Regions from separate parts of the Homo sapiens genome. Here regions 2, 3 and 4 are each linked to region 1. The links are contacts of gene promoters, found by promoter capture Hi-C in blood cells and fetal thymus (Javierre and others, 2016). All regions are on one chromosome and are shown on one strand. The core of a region is centred on a gene start or on the middle of the fragment in contact, and the rest is flanking DNA. Distances in the headings are between cores, read along the strand shown. Region 1 holds the start of THAP3 (THAP domain containing 3). Region 2 holds the start of ACOT7 (acyl-CoA thioesterase 7). Region 3 holds the start of TNFRSF25 (TNF receptor superfamily member 25). Region 4 overlaps PLEKHG5 (pleckstrin homology and RhoGEF domain containing G5).

Region 1 (4,350 bases), core at 1,671-4,170:
TTGAAAGCCATGCAGTAAGGTTTGCCTGTAGATGGTAAAATTGAGAAGGAAGGAGTTTCATGTTGGAGATAAAATTAAGTTACAGGACGGCAGGTTAAGGGGATCAGAAGTTTGTTTTGTAGCAGCTGAGCATGGTGGCTCACGCCTGTAATCCCAGCACTTTGGGAGGCCAAGGCAGACAGACTGCCTCAACTCAGGAGTTCAAGACCAGCCTGGCCAACATGGTGAAACCCCATCTCTACTAAAGATGCAAAAATTAGCCCAGCGTGGTGGCGCACTCCTGTGATCCCAGCTACTTGGGAGGCTGAGGCACAAGAATCACCTGAACCAGGGAGGCAGAGGCTGCAGTGAGCCGAGACTGCGCCACTGCACTCCACCTGGGCAACAGAGTGAGAGTCTGTCTCCAAAAAAAGAAGTTTGTTTTTTATGTCAGGAGTTAAATTTGAGGTGCTTTTTAGGCTCTCCATGTGCTGGGGTGACAGGCGGCCACACGCATCTGGAGATGTCAGTGTGGCGGCCAACCCTGCGGAACCGATAAGCCTGGGTGAGATGGGCCCCTGGGGAGCAAGTGTGGCTAGAAGCCACCCCTGGGCCATGGCCCACACCCCAGGGCTCCAACACTTAGTGCTGGAAATAAGGAGGATCCAGCAAAGGAGACTGAGAAGAGACACCTGTGGCCAAGAAGTGTACCAGACGCCATGCGGGAAAAGTGACCCAGGCTCAGGGGTCAGTTGTGTGAAATGCTATGCAATCGATCAGTGTCACAAGGCTCACTAGTGATGTGACAGAGCTCTCGTGGGAGTGGAGGAAACGACTTCAAGAGAGAAGGCGCAGCAACTCCATCCCCAAGTACATACCTGACAGAGGCAAAACAGATAGATGCACTGCAACACAAGTCCCACCAAAACTGGCCAAAACAATGTTTGTTTTGTTTTGTTTTTTGAGACGGAGTCTCGCTCTGTTGCCCAAGATGGAGTGTAGTGGTGCGATCTCGGTTCACTGCAAGCTCTGCCTCCCAGGGTCAAGTGATTCTCCTGCCTTAGCCTCCTGAGTAGCTGGGATTTCAGGTGCGCGCTACCACGCCCGGGTAATTTTTGTATTTGTAGTAGAGAAGTAGAGACGGGGTTTCACCATGTTGGTCAGGCTGGTCTCCAACTCCTGACCTCAGGTGATCCACCCAGCTCGGCCTCCCAAAGTGCTGGGATTACAGGCGTGAGCCACCACGCCCAGCCTCCAGAACCATGTATTTGTCATCCAAAAAATGGGGCCACCCAAATGCCCTTCAATTGTAGAACAAATCAGTAAATTCTGGCACTTGCATTCAATGGAATATTATGTGGCAACGAAAGCGAATGAACTGCAATCCACTCTGATAGCGGGCAGGATAGGGTTCCCTTTGGGCAGGAGAGAGGAGGAGGGCCTGGGAGGGGGTCCAGGTAGGGGTTCTTCTCGGGGGTAGTGATGTTTTATTTCTTATTTTGAGATGAGGTATCGCTCTGTCACCCAGGCTGGAGTGCAGTGGCAAGATTATAGCTCACTGCAGCCTCGAAGCTGGGTTCAAGCGATCCTCCTACTTCAGTCTCCCGAGCAGCTGGGACTACAGGGGCACACCACCTTGCCTGGCTAATTTTTTTAAATTATTTGTAGAGGTAGGGTCTCCTTCTGTTGCCCAGGCAGGTCTCGAACTCCCAGGCTCAAGCGATCCTCCCGCCTCGGCCTCCCAAAGTGCTGGGATGACAGGCTTGAGCCACCGCGCCCAGCTGGTAACGTTTCAGTTCAGTGACGTTCACTTGGGGAAAACTCGCTGGGCTGTATACTTATGATTCGTGCATTTTTCTGCATGTACATTACGTATACTTCAAGCAAAGCATTTATCACAAAACAGAACAATGGGAGCAGAGGGAATGGGAACGATGAGCACAAGCCCCCCTTCGGAATGTGCCCAAAAGTGGGTAGAGAAATGGTGCCGTGACTGGACCTTGGAGAAAGCGCAACTGTGACTAATGACGATTGCTCCTGGGCCGGGCCGGGCCGGGCCGGGCGAGTGCTGGAGCAGACTCCAAAGTCTCCAGCGTCCTCCCGCGACCCTGCAGAGTCCCTTCCCACTGCCAGGACGCCCCTGGGGGTTCCACTCCTCCACTGCACTGCCCAGGTGCCGGGCTCCCTTCAGGACCGCGCGCGGCGGGGGCTGCAGCGACCAGGGACACAGCAAACCCCGGCCGCGGCCCGCTAGTCTGTTCAGCAAACACCTGCTCCGCTCCCTGCACGTCCCGGCCCTGGCCCCGCCAGGTGCGCCGCTGCCCCTCCGTCCGCCACTCCCCGCATCCCCGCGGCGGGCGCGGCGGCGCCAGCCCCTCTGGGCCCAGGACCTCGGCCTGTCCCCGGGCCCAGCGGCCGCACGCCTTTGGGCCTCCCGCCCGGCGCGCCAAGGCCTCGGAGTCGGTCCGCGGGCCCCGGGTCTGGGCCTCCCGCGCCCCCGGGTCCCCGCCTCTTACCGGTGGAAGGTGAGCTGCTTCCTGCGGCTGCTGTAGCGGTTGCAGCACTGCCGGGCCGCGCACGACTTCGGCATCTCGAGCCAGGCCTGGCTGCCCCCAACAAAGATGGCGGCGGCGGCGGGGCCTGCGGAGAGGGGAGGGACCTGCGGGGAGGGGCGGGGCCGCTGGGAGGTGGTGACGGGCCTGGCTCGCCTCCAGGGCGCGCTCATCCTGCCATCCCAGCCACCCGCGTCTCCCCAGGGTCGGACGGGACCCGGGGCGCCACGTAAAGGGGTGCTCCGGGCCCCAATTCAGGCCCGAAACCCCAACTCCTAGCCTTGGGCCTGTGCAAGTCTTACCCCATTCGCCAATGCTGGTCGCCTTTCACCTCCTTGCTTTGAGCACCCAACCAGGACGCATAGCCACTCACAGGCTTGGACAACTGGAAACCAACGGCCAACCCCTCAGTGTTTTTAGGGCTTTGAATTGTGAATAGGTCTGGACTCCTCTGACGTCACTGGAGGTGGTACTAGTTGGCCACTGGTGGTGTCAGTTCAGAGGCCAGACAGCTCACTGCCCTTAAGTTTGGTCACAGGGAACCCCCAAACGTGAAGAGGCAAAAAGGGCAACTGAAGGGGAGGGAGATTCCAGTTCAGGCCTTGCAGAAACTCCGAGGCTGCAGCTTTCTCAAAGCAGCCTATAGGGAAGGCGTCATCTTGTAAGAAGAAAAAAAAAAAAATCGGCCAGGCGCAGTGGCTCACGCCTGTAATCCCAGCACTTTGGGAGGCCGAGGCAGGCGGATCACCTGAGATCAGGAGTTCAAGGCCAGCCTGACCGACATGGTGAAACCCCATCTCTACTAAAAATACAAAAATTAGCCGCACATGGTGGCGGGCACCTGTAATTCCAGCTACTCGGAAGGCTGAAGCAGGAGAATCTCTTGAACCCGGGAGGTGGAAGTTACAATGAGCCAAAATCTCATCACAGCACTTCACAGCCTAGGTGACAAGAACGAAACTCAAGTCTCAAAAACAAAAAAAAAATCAAAAGTAGGCTAACCACTCACTGGGGCTTGAGCTAATCCTCAATCTGATGAAGAAACTGCAAAAACCATTCACATCTACTCGTCCTGTGGTTTGTTTCTAAGGAATTCACCAGCAAGGTACCTTAACACCGTGGGCATTTTCCATCCTGCTAAGTGCACACTGAGACGCTGCCTTCCCAGAGACTTGATGTAATCATGCTTTGGGGAGGTAGCAAGGAGAAAAGAAACACAATTGTCCTTCAGCACAGAACGCAATCGCCTGAACCTTGAATCATGAACCTCAAAGTAGCAATATATTTATTTACAAAATATACAGTTTCACAGAAACAGCTTCGCTTTATACACATAAACTTTAAAATTACACAGAACCATGTAAACGATGTGAAGTGTCTGGCCTGGCCAAAGCCAATGGGAGGGCCTACTTTTGGGGTGACATCCCTCCCTCCCCTCACTTCATTAGCCACCAACCAGGAACCACAGATGGGTCGTGCCTAATTTGCATATAAAGAAGCTGATTGCAGCTGCCCAGCTCAATCTAACACAAAAACCAAGGTGTCCGACTTCTTAGACACCACCCACAGGGACAGATCTGCTAAAAGAACAAAAATGCAATCAAGGAAACAAAATGGAGATGAGTATCACATGCATTCCAGAGGCATCGAACCTTCTAGCACACGTGACAGTTGCCAGGGCCGGCAGTTCCATTCTAAAGTCACATGGATTCTTAAATGCACCTTTAAAAGCTTGTGGAATTTTTTTTTTTCAAAGCAGAAAAACACTTTGGAGCGCTGGTTATTCACGTGGTGAAGACACTGGACAGGCGTTATCTCA
Region 2 (4,350 bases), core at 623-3,122, 230 kb after region 1:
ACCAATCGGCACTCTGTATCTAGCTCAAGGTTTGTAAACACACCAATCAGCACCCTGTGTCTAGCTCAGGGTTTGTGAATGCACCAATCAACACTCTGTATCTAACTACGCTGGTGGGGACTTGGAGAACCTTTGTGTCGACACTCTATCTAGCTAATCTGGTGGGGACATGGAGAACCTTTGTGTCTAGCTCAGGGATTGTAAACACACCAATCAGCACCCTGTCAAAACAGACCACTCTGCTCTACCAATCAGCAGGATGTGGGTAGGGCTAGATGAGAGAATAAAAGCAGGCTGCCCGAGCCAGCAGTGGCAACCCACTCTGGTCCCCTTCCACGCTGTAGGAGTGTTGTTCTTTCGCTCTTTGGGTCCACACTGCCTTTATGAGCCGTTAACATTCACTGTGAAGGTCTGCAGCTTCACTCCTGAGCCAGGGAGACCACGAACCCACCAGAAGGAAGAAACTCCAGATGCGCCACCTTAAGAGCTGTAACACTCACCACGAGGGTCCGCGGCTTCATTCTTGAAGTCGGTGAGACCAAGAACCCACCAATTCTGGACACATCTGTACTAAAAATACAAAAATAAGCCAAACGTGGTGGTGCATGCCTATGGTCCCAGCTACTCAGTGTGGTTGAGGCAGGAGAATTGCTTGAAACTGGATGGCAGAGGTTACAGTGAGCTATCACACCACTGCATTCCAGCCTGGGCGACAGAACGAGACTCTATATCAAAAAAAGAAAACAGGCCAGGCGTGGTGGCTCACGCCTGTAATCCCACCACTTTGGGAGGCAGAGGCGGGCAGATCACAAGGTCAGGAGATCAAGACCATCCTGGCTAACACAGTGAAACCCCGTCTCTACTAAAAATACAAAAAATTAGCCGGGCGTGGTGGCAGGCGCCTGTAGTCCCAGCTACTTGGGAGGCTGAGGCAGGAGAATGGCGTGAACCTGGGAGGCGGAGCTTGCAGTGAGCTGAGATTGCACCACTGCACTCCAGCCTGGGCAACAGAGCAAGACTCCGTCTCAAAAAAAAAAAAAAAAAAAGAAAACAGAAAAACAAAATTCTTAGTATAAAAGTCTTGAAATCACAGAGTTCTGACTTTGACTGCCCCTGCTTCTGGGAGCTACAGATCATGCTGTGGGCTGCCTCCACGGTCTGGTAACTCAAGGGTGACCGGGGTGAGGCACAGTTCCTTCAGAGCTACCTAGCTGAGTGTAAATGGGTTGTTCAAATTGCACTAGGGAGCCGGAGTTGCGTGGGTTTTAATTTAAAGATGTAAGTACAAATCTATGTGCATTGTAGAAAATTCGGAAAAGGTCCAACTGCCTAGCAAGTAAAAAGCTGTCATTCCAGCACGTGGGGGGTGACCGCTTCTCCCTTCTTGGGTGTTTTTTGGTGGATTTTTTTTGGTGACCCCGACTGGCCTAGACTCCATTCAAGGGCACATCTTGTGCAGTAAAACACGCATGTTTCAGGGCTCCTCACTGCAACACGTGCACCTCCAGGCTGGCGCTCAGCGCTCCCAGTAAAAGCTGCAGGCGGCGGTGTAGATAGTCGCCGGCCTTTCCTCCTCCCCACCTCGTGACGCTTTGTGCTGCGGAAGCAAAGGCCCGTTCCATTCCCCGTGTCTTCCCAGCAGCCGCCACCAATGCTCCTTTCTAGGAAACAGCCTTCCATTCTCTCTTAGGGCCGATCTTAGCGAGAGCCGCGATGCGGGCGACTGGTGCCGGGGTGGGTTGGGGGCGGGGGTGGGAATCAGGCCCCACTGCCAGGAGCCCGGGCCGCGCCTTCCGCTCTGACCTCATCCGGCCGCCCAGGCACTGGGCGCGGCAGCGAATCGGCGGCGCGGGCGGCCGGGAACGCCCAGCACAAATATTTACCGCCGCGCGGAGAGTGAGGGCCCAAGTCCGCCCTGCTCCGCCACTTAGGCCGCCCCAGACGCTTCCCTCGGGGCTGCCACCGGGTCGGGCGCGGCTGCCGCGGCTAGCGGGCCTTCCCCGCACCGGCGCGGCCCAACCGCCACCGAACCTTCTGGAAGCGGCGGCTGCCTGGGCCCCCACGCCGCCAGAATCGTACGCCCGCGCGAGCTCTCTGCAGCCTTGGCGGCCTGGGAGGCGGGGCTCGGGGTGGGGCCGGCGCGGGGGCGGGGTCGGCGCGGGGAGGCCGCGTTCGATTGCCCCCGGCGCGCAGGCCCCGCCTCACCAGCCCCATCGCTCCACCTCTGCCCTCCCCCTTTATGGCGCGGCCCGGGCTCATTCATTCCGCGCCGGGCCTGCCAGACACCTGCGCCCTTCTGCAGCCGCCCGCCGCATCCGCCGCCGCAGCCCCCAGCATGTCGGGCCCAGACGTCGAGACGCCGTCCGCCATCCAGATCTGCCGGTAAGAGAGGGCCCGCGCGCAGCCTGCAGCGGCCAGGCGCGCCGGTCACCGCCCCAGGCCTGCCCCGCTTGGCTCTGTGGTCCCCACCCGCCGAGGCCGCCCCCGCCCGCCGATTCCCCGCACGGCCTTCCGCGCCGCCGCCCCGGACGCCCGCCCGGCCGGGATGCGACTCGCGATGCCGCACAAGCCGGGCGGCCCCCGCCCGCCTCCAGCCGGCTCCTCCTGGCCGCATCTCCAGGGCGGCGGCCGCGCCACGGGCCGTTTGGGCGAGAAAGCCAGGCAGGGACGGGGCGGGCGGAGGTCAATGCACAGCTCCAGAGCCCGGCGACCGGCGCCCGTGGGCCGCCCCGCCTCGGGCCTCGCCCGAGCATCCCGGAGCCTCAGCCCCGTGGTCCTGCTTAGCCTCCTCGAGGATTCGGGATCATTACCTCGGCGGTTGTGCTGCGCTAACCAAAGCCCCCAGAGGTGGAGGGGAGGTGCCCAGAGCCGCGCGAGCCCCTCGGTGGGTGCCCCTGTGGGAGGAGGTTGCAGAGCTACCGTCTTCAGTGCACTGCTTCGGTTTGGGGGAGGGCAGGTGTTGAAAGGAAGAACAGATAATACTGTCTACCTCTAACAGTTTACTATGAAGAAAAGGGAATCAGTGGTCTGTTGGGCCTGAAAGCATCTTACACAATAGAGGCAAAGGGTTGTCCTTCTAGAGCACCCCCTCTTCTTCCACCAGGTACTGAGTAGATAGATGCAGGCCCCCAGAGGAAGCTGGAGGCTGGAGATCATGAACAAGCTCATTTCCCATAGGAGGTGGGGAGGGCAGCCTGAAGGTTACTCTGCAGTTCTCTTCGGCAGAATCGGAAGCAGCAGGCTGGCATTTGTGCATGAGCTAAGTGAGGACAAGGAGTCTAGGTTTTCAGCCACTGCACACAGGCTCTGTGGCCTGCGACCGGTCCTATCCTGCTTGATGAACTACCAGGAGTGAGAGCTGCTTTCTGTTTTGGTAGTGGGTTCCTCACATTTGGGGGTTGGGCATCACAGACTGACCTTGGGCTCAAGCCAAGTCCAATAGAAGCAAGTTACTTTCCTGTAGATGTTGACATCTCCAGGAAGGCTGGGCATATAGCAAGTCCTGGGTCTATGGCGATTCTTGACTCTCAGTCTCATCTTCTGGCCTGGTCGAGGGCCTCTCCTTACCTCAAGGTCGGTTTTGACTTTTCCAGAGGGGGAACGTCTTTGGGGGAGCCCTGCCCCTTTGACTTTGGCTCTGTGGCTGTTCTGGTCCCATCGACTCTGGAGGTGGGGAAAGCGGGGCAAAAAAAAAAAAGGAAATAACTGGAGACAGACAGCCTGCATCAGGTTCCTGAATCAGCTCTGCTGAGTATTGGCTGGGAAACTTGGGCTCCATGGTTTGCAAAGAGCTTATACCTGTCTCATCCCACTTGGTTTGCCCAATTCCCTGGGAGGTTGATGGTCGGTAGTGCCACCCTTACCTGTGTGGAGGAGGAAATGGCAGTTTTGGGAGTTGAGTAACTGTGTAAGGTCATCCTGCTCCAGGAGATCCAGGGACAGCCCCTGCCCAAGTCTTCTGACTCCAGATCCAGTATTCTTCCCACCCCTCTCCTGAATAAAGGAAACCTTGATTTAAATCTTCCCGTGGAAGGCTGGCCTTTTATTTACTTCTTCAGGGTGGTGAATAGCCAATTTATACATGTTGTCTTTTTTCACCCAGCTTCTAACAGTTACTAGATTTTTTGTTTTTTGAGACAGAGTCTCACTCTGTCACCCGGGCTGGAGTGCAGTGGCCCGATCTCAGCTCACTGCAACCCCTGCCTCCTGGGCTCAAGTGATTCTTGGGCCTCAGCCTCCCGAGTAGCTGGGACTACAAGAGTGCGCCACCACGCCTGGCTAATTTTTGTGTTTTTAGTAGAGATGGGGTTTCTCCATGTTGGCCAGGCTGGTCTCGAACTCCTGACCTCA
Region 3 (4,350 bases), core at 962-3,461, 160 kb after region 1:
CCTACGGCACCCTCTCCCCAACCTCCTTACAAGACTTTGTGGCCCCAGGCCCAATGGCAGAGCTAGTGCCTCGGGCCCCAGAGTCCCCACGAGTTCCTTCCCCTCCACCCTCGCCCCGTCTCCGCCGCCGCACCCCTGTCCAGCTGTTGAGCTGCCCGCCCCACCTGCTCAAGTCTAAGTCCGAGGCCAGCCTCCTCCAGCTGCTGGCAGGGGCTGGCACCCATGGGACACCCTCTGCCCCCAGCCGCAGCCTGTCAGAGCTCTGCCTGGCTGTTCCAGCCCCAGGTATTAGGACTCAGGGCTCCCCTCAGGAAGCTGGGCCCAGCTGGGATTGCCGAGGGGCCCCTAGCCCTGGCAGCGGTCCTGGGCTAGTCGGCTGCCTGGCCGGGGAACCTGCAGGCTCCCACAGGAAGAGGTGTGGAGACCTGCCCTCGGGGGCCTCTCCCAGGGTCCAGCCTGAGCCCCCACCAGGGGTCTCTGCCCAGCACAGGAAGCTGACCCTGGCCCAGCTCTACCGAATCAGGACCACCCTGCTGCTTAACTCCACGCTCACTGCCTCGTGAGTGGCCTGGACTGGGGTAGGGCAGGTGGCTCAGGGCACTGGCATGGGGGCCCACTCATGCCTGGGAGCATCGCATTTGGGGAGGGTCATGGCGGAGGGAGCCTGAACCCTGCCCAGTGTCTGGGCGCAGGGGGCTGTGGTGGGCAGCAGTGAAGGGGCCTGAGGAGTGCCGTGGGGAAGAGAGGGTGACCAGAGCCACTCTGAATGGCGTCAGCCAAAGAAGGACTCTGTCCCCTCCCCACCCTGTAGGGAGGTCTGAGCAGAGGGAGGCCCCCAAGAGTGCCATTGACCAAGAGACAGCAGACAGCCTGCCTCCTGGGGCGTGCCGGCACCTGCTTCAGCTACTGCCTCCTGTATGCATGAGCCGGATGCTGGGCAGGATCCCTGCCTACGCCCGGGCCCGATTTGCGCTTTGCCGGACTGGATGGAGTGGAGGAGGCCCAGGCCACAGTACCACCCCACCTGCCCAGGCAGCCCCTCGTCACCTACTCCCCGAAGTTACCAGCTCAGCTCGAGTCTTCAGGGCTGGGCTCCTAGGCTGCCCATCCTACTTCTACCCTCACTGGCCTCCAGTGGGATTCACTCCTGCCCTGCCCCCACCTTCCCAGTCCCACAGGCCACCCCTGGCTTGGGCTGGGTTCTGTGAAGTTACGTATTTATTGAGCTTTTGGTTCTTTTATAAAGACTTGTCTAGACTCCACTGGGAAGAGTCCTTTGCTTTGGGGCCCAGTGACTCGGGGCACTTGAGTTCAGGGCGGCCTCCTTGTGTTCCTGTGCTCCTCCACTTGCCACGGATGGGCCACGGATGGAGCTTGCCATGGGAAGCACTGGGAAGTAATGGGGTGTGGGGTGCCACCAGACCAACACCCCCAGACTTCCCCACCTTCAGCCACCATCAGAGCCTCTCCCCAGGTGCCCCCCGGGGATTCAGGGCTGAATCTGCCCAGTTCCCACACTCAGGCCAGCCCTCTTGGGAAGGTGGGTCCTCCATGGGGGTCCCTTCAGGAACTTTTTTTTTTTTTTTAATACAGAGTCTCACTCTGTCACCTAGGTTGGAGTGCAGTGGTGTGATGTCGGCTCACTGCAACCTCTGCCTCCCGGGTTCAAACGATTCTCCTGCCCCAGCCACTCTAGTAGCTGGAACTGCAGGTGTGCACCACCACGCCGGGCTAGTTTTTGTATTTTAAGTAGAGACGGCATTTCACCATATTGGTCAGGCTGGTCTCGAACTCCTGACCCCAAGTGTTCCGCCCGCCTCTGCCTCCCATAGTGCTAGAATTACAGGCCTGAGCTACTGCGCTTGGCCCCTTGCGGTACTTTTGGCCCAACCTCCTCCATGGCTGGGGACGCGGAGGCCGAGAGAGAAGTCACTTGCCCTGGCTCTACCTTGAAGTGGTTCTCAGGGTTGGGGCGAGAGTCGGGGTGGGGACCGAGATGCAGCTCTATCCTGTGCCCCTGGTCGCAGCAGGCAGCCCAGCGCTTCGCGTGTTCTACTTGGCCTGTCCGCTGCCGCCTAATGAGCTCAGGTCTAGGCCGAGCAGAGGGGGCACCTGGTCGGACTCGGTTGGGCTCGGGCGGCCCCGCCTCCCCCCGCCCGCCAGGCGGGCCCTTCTCGACGGCGCGGGGCGGGCCCTGCGGGCGCGGGGCTGAAGGCGGAACCACGACGGGCAGAGAGCACGGAGCCGGGAAGCCCCTGGGCGCCCGTCGGAGGGCTATGGAGCAGCGGCCGCGGGGCTGCGCGGCGGTGGCGGCGGTGAGTTGAGACGCAGGAGGCTAGGGGCAGCTTTGAGCCCTGTCCCAAGAGCCTCGGTGAAGGAAGGGGCCCCGGGCGCGTCTCCACTCCAAGCCTCACTGGGGGCTGGGTTGGCCGCCCTTTCCGATCTCGTTAAAGGCTCCTCCAGGGCGTAGCCCTTCCACTGAGAGGAAACCCCTCCCAGGAGGGTCTGGGGGCCCCAGGCAGAGCATTATCAGTGTCCCTCCCCCAACAGAAAGCATGGGTGGGGGTGGGGGCGCTGCTGGATTCCTGCTCTGGTGGAGGGGAAACTTGTGAGGGGCTGGTAAGCGCCCCCTCCGAAGCCTGGTGTGTGCGCGGGGGGAAGGAAGTTAGTTTCCTCTCCACCCATGGGCACCCCTTCTGCCCGGGGCCTGGGAAGTGGGCTGCTCTGTGGGCAAATGCTGGGGCCTCTGAAATGGAGGAGACGCAGCAGGGAGAGGCCCCACGTGGGCAGCTGCGCTGAGAGTCAGCAGCACCTGTCCCCCAGGCGCTCCTCCTGGTGCTGCTGGGGGCCCGGGCCCAGGGCGGCACTCGTAGCCCCAGGTGTGACTGTGCCGGTGACTTCCACAAGAAGATTGGTCTGTTTTGTTGCAGAGGCTGCCCAGCGGGTAAGTGGCCACAGGGGTGGGAGAGGCATGGGGCAGGCAGGGCTGGAGAGGTGGCGGGCAGGCCCGGGAGGTAAGAGGAGGCTGGCAGGGGAGGTAGGGGTAGGCTGACAGAGAAGTAGGGAGCTGGAGAGAAAGAGGGAGGGAGGGCAGGGTGGGAAGCAGGTCGGGGGTTGCTGGGCAGCCCCTCTGCCTGCCTGACCCCTGCCTGGTTCCACAGGGCACTACCTGAAGGCCCCTTGCACGGAGCCCTGCGGCAACTCCACCTGCCTTGTGTGTCCCCAAGACACCTTCTTGGCCTGGGAGAACCACCATAATTCTGAATGTGCCCGCTGCCAGGCCTGTGATGAGCAGGGTGAGGGGCTTCTCAGTGCTTGGCAGGGAGTTCCTAAGGACAGGCCTTTCTGAAGGAAGTGGCTGGCTCGGGCCCAAACTTGGGGTGTGAGGGTCCTGCACCCACCCTTGCCAGAACCCTCCACCCTGATCCTCCTTCAGGGTGCCCTTGCCCCTTCTCTCTTCCTGGTGACCTTCCCATCTCTCCATGTGCCTTGGCCTCTGGTCGGCCTTAATCTCTGAGCTTCTCTCTTTTTTAGGGTAGCCCTGTACCTGTCTGTCTTTCGCCTATTTCTGTCTCCATTATCTTGGGATAATGCCTCTGCCTCTCCATGGGAGCCTTTGGCCCTGACTAACTCTCCACTCCCCATCTCCCTGCACCCCCACCAGCCTCCCAGGTGGCGCTGGAGAACTGTTCAGCAGTGGCCGACACCCGCTGTGGCTGTAAGCCAGGCTGGTTTGTGGAGTGCCAGGTCAGCCAATGTGTCAGCAGTTCACCCTTCTACTGCCAACCATGCCTAGACTGCGGGGCCCTGCACCGCCACACACGGCTACTCTGTGAGTACCCCCACCCAGGGCTCTCTACTCCCAGACCCCCTTCTCCCTGCCTGACCCACTCCTGTCCCATGGTGACGCATGCCTCTCCTGGATTGCAGGTTCCCGCAGAGATACTGACTGTGGGACCTGCCTGCCTGGCTTCTATGAACATGGCGATGGCTGCGTGTCCTGCCCCACGTAATTCCTAGCTGTCGTGGGATGGAGGGAAGGGCGGCTGGGAGCAGAGCAGGGGCCTGGGGTGGGGCAGGTGCTGCTGGTTCAGGAATAGGAAGAGGGGATAGGGAGGAGGGAGCCTTGGCCCTGTGATGGGTGGGCCCCACTTCAGGCAAACTTAGATGGCAAAAGAGCAATCTGGATCCGCCTTAGCCAGATACATAAGGGTATTTGCCTTCACTTTCAGCCAGCATTCCCCCCAGCGATCCTAGCCAGATATTACAGATGATTTGTCACTTACACAGAGAGTCACATTGATATAGCTTTAAAACTTGGGCTGAAGGAGGTTGAGGCTGCAGTGAGCT
Region 4 (4,350 bases), core at 735-3,234, 140 kb after region 1:
CACTGGGTCCCAGCCTTGGGCATACTAGCCAGGACCGCTCCCTGGGGAGGAAGGGGCCTTCCTGGCTTCCAGGGCCCGTGCGGTGGGCTTAGCCTGGGGAGAGGTTTTCTGTGTCCCTGCCATCTGCCCGGCACAGGGCAGGGCCTTAGGTCAGGCTCTGACTCCAGGTGAGCCTCAGAACCCAAGGGGTGATGGGTGAGGCCTGGGCCTAGGGGAAAGGAGGGTGGGTAGGCCGGGTGGAGCGTAGAGAGCCGCCTGGCAAAGCCACCCCGCCCTGGCTGGCCTGCCCATGCATGCAGTCTCCACCCCTGGATTTCTAAGGTGTTGGGTGGGGCCTTGGGACTAGCAGGCTCCCAGGGGAGCTTAGCCTTGGTGGGAATTCCTGGCAAGGACATCCCTCCAGCCAGAGAGCTCGGACTCCTGGTTCCAGGCCCGTCTGCTGTCGGCAGAGCCTGGAGCTGGCCCCAGACCTGCGTCCTTTCCTGGACAGGGAAGTCCCTCTCCCACCCAGACCAGGCTGGGGCCCCAGCTCGTTGTGGGGCAGGGATGCCTGGGGGATCCCTGGTTTCCCATCTGCTTTTCTGGGGCTGGGGGAGGTGATACTGAGGGAGAACAGCCGGGTGCGGGGGTCCTGCCTTGGAGACTCCATTATTCATCAGCCTCCGCATCTGGTTTCTGGGTATCAGTTTCAACAAGCCGGCCCTGACTCACAAGCCTGGAGCTGGGGCTGGGCTGGGGAGGGGCTCCCTCCCCAGGGAGTTGGGGGCCAGGACTTCTTGGGCCTGCCCCTGAGCTGTTTCAGCTCCCTGCTGTGGAGAGGAGGTGGGAATGCAGGAGCCTGCCCAGGCCCACCCCACTGCCCTGGTACAGGGGCTGGGGGCTCCTTTCTGCTCTGCACTCTTGCCCCTAAGGAACAGTCCCCCACCCTTGCTGAGTACCCAGGCAGCAGCCTCACTCAGGGATGGCCAGGGCCCAGGCACTCAGGTGACCTCTGGTGATCCGCCCTGACCCAGCCCTGGTGGTCTCCACTTGATGCAACCTGGTTACCCCACACCGGTGGGCTCCCCACAAGCTGGCTTTGGGATCTGCCGTGTCTTCAGGAAGGCAATCTCCAGGGCCCTGTTGCCCAAACCAACATTCAGCTGTCTTCAGGCCCCACGCCTGCCCTGTGCCTGAGGCACCCATTTCCCTACGTAGCAGCAGCTGGTGACTTTGGGGCAAGTCAGTTGACACAGGCCTTAGTTTCTCTATCTGTTAAATGGGGATTGTAACAGTATCTCCTCCTAAGAGTCTTTGAGAAGAGCGAATGGGATTCACTGCCTGGAACTCCCACGATGGGGTGGCACATGGAATGCTCAGTGAAATGCAGTTATCTGCCTACAGGACAGTATGGGGGTGGAGGTCTGGGGCAAGACCACCCGATTTGAAGTAGGAACTCACCTGCCCAGGGCCAGCAGGCCCAAGGTCATGGATACTAGGAGGAGGAAGAGACCTTCGGTCTGGCAGTGGGGAAGGCTCTGTTGACTGTCGGCCACAGGAAGGGATATCCTGGCCGAGCCCTTTCCTGTCCCCATGTCCTTCTGTGGCATGAAGGCCCTTCTGCCTTCATCTGTTCACTGATCTCATCCCCACCAAGCGCACCTACTGTGCACCAGGACTGTTCTAAGTGCCGAGGACACAGTGAGATGCAGACGGCCAAGGCGCTGGCTTCTGGAGAGGACAGTCTGGTAGGGAAGAATGATGATAAAAAAGTGAACAAAGAAATGAATTACAGGTAGTAATAAACACTAAGAAGGAAATAATTTAACTTAAAGGAATTGAGAGTGGGAGGGTAAGGGTGGTTTATTTTAAGATGAGGGAAAAGGACGTCTTAGAGGTAACATTTAAGTTGGGGCCCGGTGTCAGCTGTTTCAAGATAGGGTGCGTGGAATTCCAGACAGAAAATACAGAGGAGAAGGCCCTGAGCTTGGCGAGCTGTAGGGAGAGAAGGAAGACCGGCAGGTGGACCCTGTGCGGACCAGCTGGGAGGGAGGCGGGAGCCCGGCCATGGTGGGATTTCACTATAAGCAAGATGGGAAGTTTTAGTTTTCAAAACTCTGCCTGTTGGCCGGGTGTGGTGGCTCATGCCTGTAATCTCAGCACTTTGGGAGGCCAAGGTGGGGGTGGATCACTTGAGATCAGGAGTTAGTGACCAGCCTGGTCAACATGGCGAAACCCCATCTCTACTAAAATACAAAAAGTAGCTGGGTGTAGTGGCGGGCGCCTGTAATCCCAGCTACTGGGGAGGCTGAGGCAGAAGAATCACTTGAACCTGGGAGGTGGAGGTCGTAGTGAGCTGGGATCATGCCACTGCACTCCAACGTGAGTGACAGAGCAAGATTCCGTCTCAAAAACAAACAAACAAAAAACAAAAACACAACTCTGCCTGTGGTGTAGACAGTGGGTGACCTGGGCTTTGGGAGTGGAGACAGCCCTGGAAGTCTCCCAGCCTCTAATAAAACGCTGCTGCCCTCCCAAAGCCATCTCACGGACCCTGGCCCCCTTCCCACCCTCTTTCCCCATGGAACCAGGTGGAGGAGGAGCAATTAGGGGTGGGTGGGCTGATGACAGACAGCATGGCCACCTCACCCCCATGGGTTCTGAGGAGTGTCCCAAGGAGGCCATCCCAGAATCCCAGAGCCACAGTCTGAGTTTCAGTCTTGCCTGTAGACTTTTGTCTCTTTATGTCACTTTATCCCCCACGCCGTGAATGGGGCTAATGGTGCCTGCCCTGCCTTCCTGGGAATCAGTGTAAAAGCGCTTTGACAGCCGTGTAGTGGTGACTCCAGCACCAGAGTCTGGGCGTTTGCGTCCTCTCAGGCTTTGCTGAGTGCCCCCTGGCGGTGGGGACCTGGCCTAGAACTGCAGGGACCTGGGCTGCTGTGCCATGTGGGTCGCCAGGGTTTCCTGATGCCTCCACCTCACCCAGCTCCTGGGGGCTGCCAAGGATAGCCTCTCAGAGCAGCCCGCCTTCTGCCCACGGCCCTTTCCAGAGGCCACCGGCCTTTGGCTCTCGGCCTCTGCCGTACCTGGGCAGTGAGCAGTCGGTGTGAGGGGGTGTCCCTGGGGCTCAGGCTCTCGGGCAGGGGTCTCCAGGTTGATGGGAGGGGCTGAGATGAGAGCTGGTTGTGAGGTTGGGGTGGGTGTGTGACTGGGGCTCAAAGCTGGTGTTGGAGCAGAGAGGGGTGTCCCTGGGGCTAGATGGAGAGCCGGACCAAGGACCCTGAGGGGAGTGTGCCCCATCCTGGCCTCCCCCTTCTGGTGCCTGTATTCTAAGAGCTCCCTTGCTGGGAGTAAGAAGGGGTCCCCTGGGCTGAGGCTCCGAGGCGGGGGTGGGGGTCTCCAGGAGGAAGGGAGGAGGGAAGGTACCCTTCTGGCTGGGAGGGACCGTGCGTGTTGGCGCTGAGGGTGAGGTGGGGACCACAGCAGAGTGGGCACCCCCAGGGCTGGGCGGGGATCGAGTCACCCAGGGGAGGGGCTCCACAGTCTCCAAGGTGGGGGGGGGTGTCACCAGCGCCCCCTGCCTCCAGCATTCAAGGAGCTCCCCAGGAGAAAGAGCAAGTTCTGAGGAGCCCTCTGAGCCCGGCATTGGTGTTGAGGAGGGAGTCAGAGAAGAGAGGGGCCCGGGGCCGCGCAGAGGCGCAGAGGTGGGGGTACCCCGGGCCAGGCAGAGGTGGGAAGGTGGGGGTCCCGGGGACTGGGCGGAGGCGGGGCTGTGGGGGTCCCCCGGCCGGGCAGAGGTAGGGGTGTGGAGTCCCCGGGTCTGGGCAGAGGCGGGGAGGCGGGGGGTCGCCCGGGCAGGCGGAGGCGGGGGTGTAGGGGTTCCCGGGCGGGGAGGCGGGGATCCCCGGGGCTGGGTGGCGAGGGCCCGGGCGGGAGGGAGGTGTCCGCCTTCCTGGGGGGCTGGGGGCTGTTCCGGGCCCGGCCCTCCCCGGGGTCCCCGCGCTCGGCGGGGGCGGGCGCGGCCGCACAATGGCAGGAAGCGGGGCTCCGCGCTTTGTCCGGCGGGCGGCGCAGACCGCGGCTTCCTCCGGCCGCCATGGGGACAGGACCCGGTGTCTCCGGACGCCTAGCAGCCTCCAGGCCGGGCCCGGGGCTGCCCCTCCGGGACTCGGAGCCCTCCTGGGCCGGGGGTCGTGCCCGCGACGGTGATAGCCAGGTACGGGGCCGGGACGGGGCGGGAACGGGGCTGGGTGCCCAGTTCTCGCCTGCAGCCGCCCAGTCCTGTGCGGGAGGCCAGGGAGGGGGTGCCCGTGACTATGGGCCCCGCGGCCCCCAGGGGAAGGATGCGGCCCATGGCGGCCGAGCCCC

The links. The method cuts DNA at HindIII sites, captures the fragments that hold promoters and counts their contacts. A CHiCAGO score of 5 or more calls a contact.
Region 2: the fragment with the promoter of ACOT7 here is called in contact with the fragment with the promoter of THAP3 in region 1 in 11 of 17 cell types (non-activated CD4 T cells, naive CD8 T cells, activated CD4 T cells and 8 more); the score reaches 11.3 in non-activated CD4 T cells.
Region 3: a contact is called between the fragment with the promoter of TNFRSF25 here and the fragment with the promoter of THAP3 in region 1, in 5 of 17 cell types (activated CD4 T cells, non-activated CD4 T cells, naive CD4 T cells and 2 more). The highest score is 11.2, in activated CD4 T cells.
Region 4: a contact is called between a fragment that was not itself captured here and the fragment with the promoter of THAP3 in region 1, in 11 of 17 cell types (naive CD8 T cells, naive CD4 T cells, fetal thymus and 8 more). The highest score is 11.9, in naive CD8 T cells.

Annotation. Positions count from the first base shown.
Region 1 is chr1:6,623,438-6,627,787 of GRCh38, reverse strand. It overlaps THAP3 (THAP domain containing 3), which reads right to left and starts at 2,920. Exons shown (of 6, transcript NM_001195753.2): 1 at 2,834-2,920; 2 at 2,496-2,638. The coding sequence starts at 2,569. PHF13 (PHD finger protein 13) reads right to left here. Exons shown (of 4, transcript NM_153812.3): 4 at 3,758-4,350. RefSeq lists a silencer at 2,120-2,529. The HindIII fragment of the contact is 4,820 bases long and covers 1-4,264 here.
Region 2 is chr1:6,391,289-6,395,638 of GRCh38, reverse strand. It overlaps ACOT7 (acyl-CoA thioesterase 7), which reads left to right and starts at 1,872. Exons shown (of 9, transcript NM_007274.4): 1 at 1,872-2,382. The coding sequence starts at 2,240. RefSeq lists enhancers at 1-235, 988-1,498, 1,499-2,011, 2,012-2,523 and silencers at 1,752-2,201, 2,472-2,561. The HindIII fragment of the contact is 26,067 bases long and covers 1-4,350 here.
Region 3 is chr1:6,464,034-6,468,383 of GRCh38, reverse strand. TNFRSF25 (TNF receptor superfamily member 25) reads left to right here and starts at 2,211. Exons shown (of 10, transcript NM_003790.3): 1 at 2,211-2,315; 2 at 2,824-2,944; 3 at 3,162-3,296; 4 at 3,665-3,832; 5 at 3,931-4,009. The coding sequence starts at 2,277. PLEKHG5 (pleckstrin homology and RhoGEF domain containing G5) reads left to right here. Exons shown (of 21, transcript NM_020631.6): 20 at 1-559; 21 at 812-1,262. The coding sequence ends at 821. RefSeq lists an enhancer at 1,442-2,390. The HindIII fragment of the contact is 14,059 bases long and covers 1-4,350 here.
Region 4 is chr1:6,485,172-6,489,521 of GRCh38, reverse strand. The region is part of intron 1 of PLEKHG5 (pleckstrin homology and RhoGEF domain containing G5); the gene reads left to right. Among named protein-coding and RNA genes, the nearest start is that of PLEKHG5, 4.3 kb to the left of the region's middle. The HindIII fragment of the contact is 7,493 bases long and covers 1-4,350 here.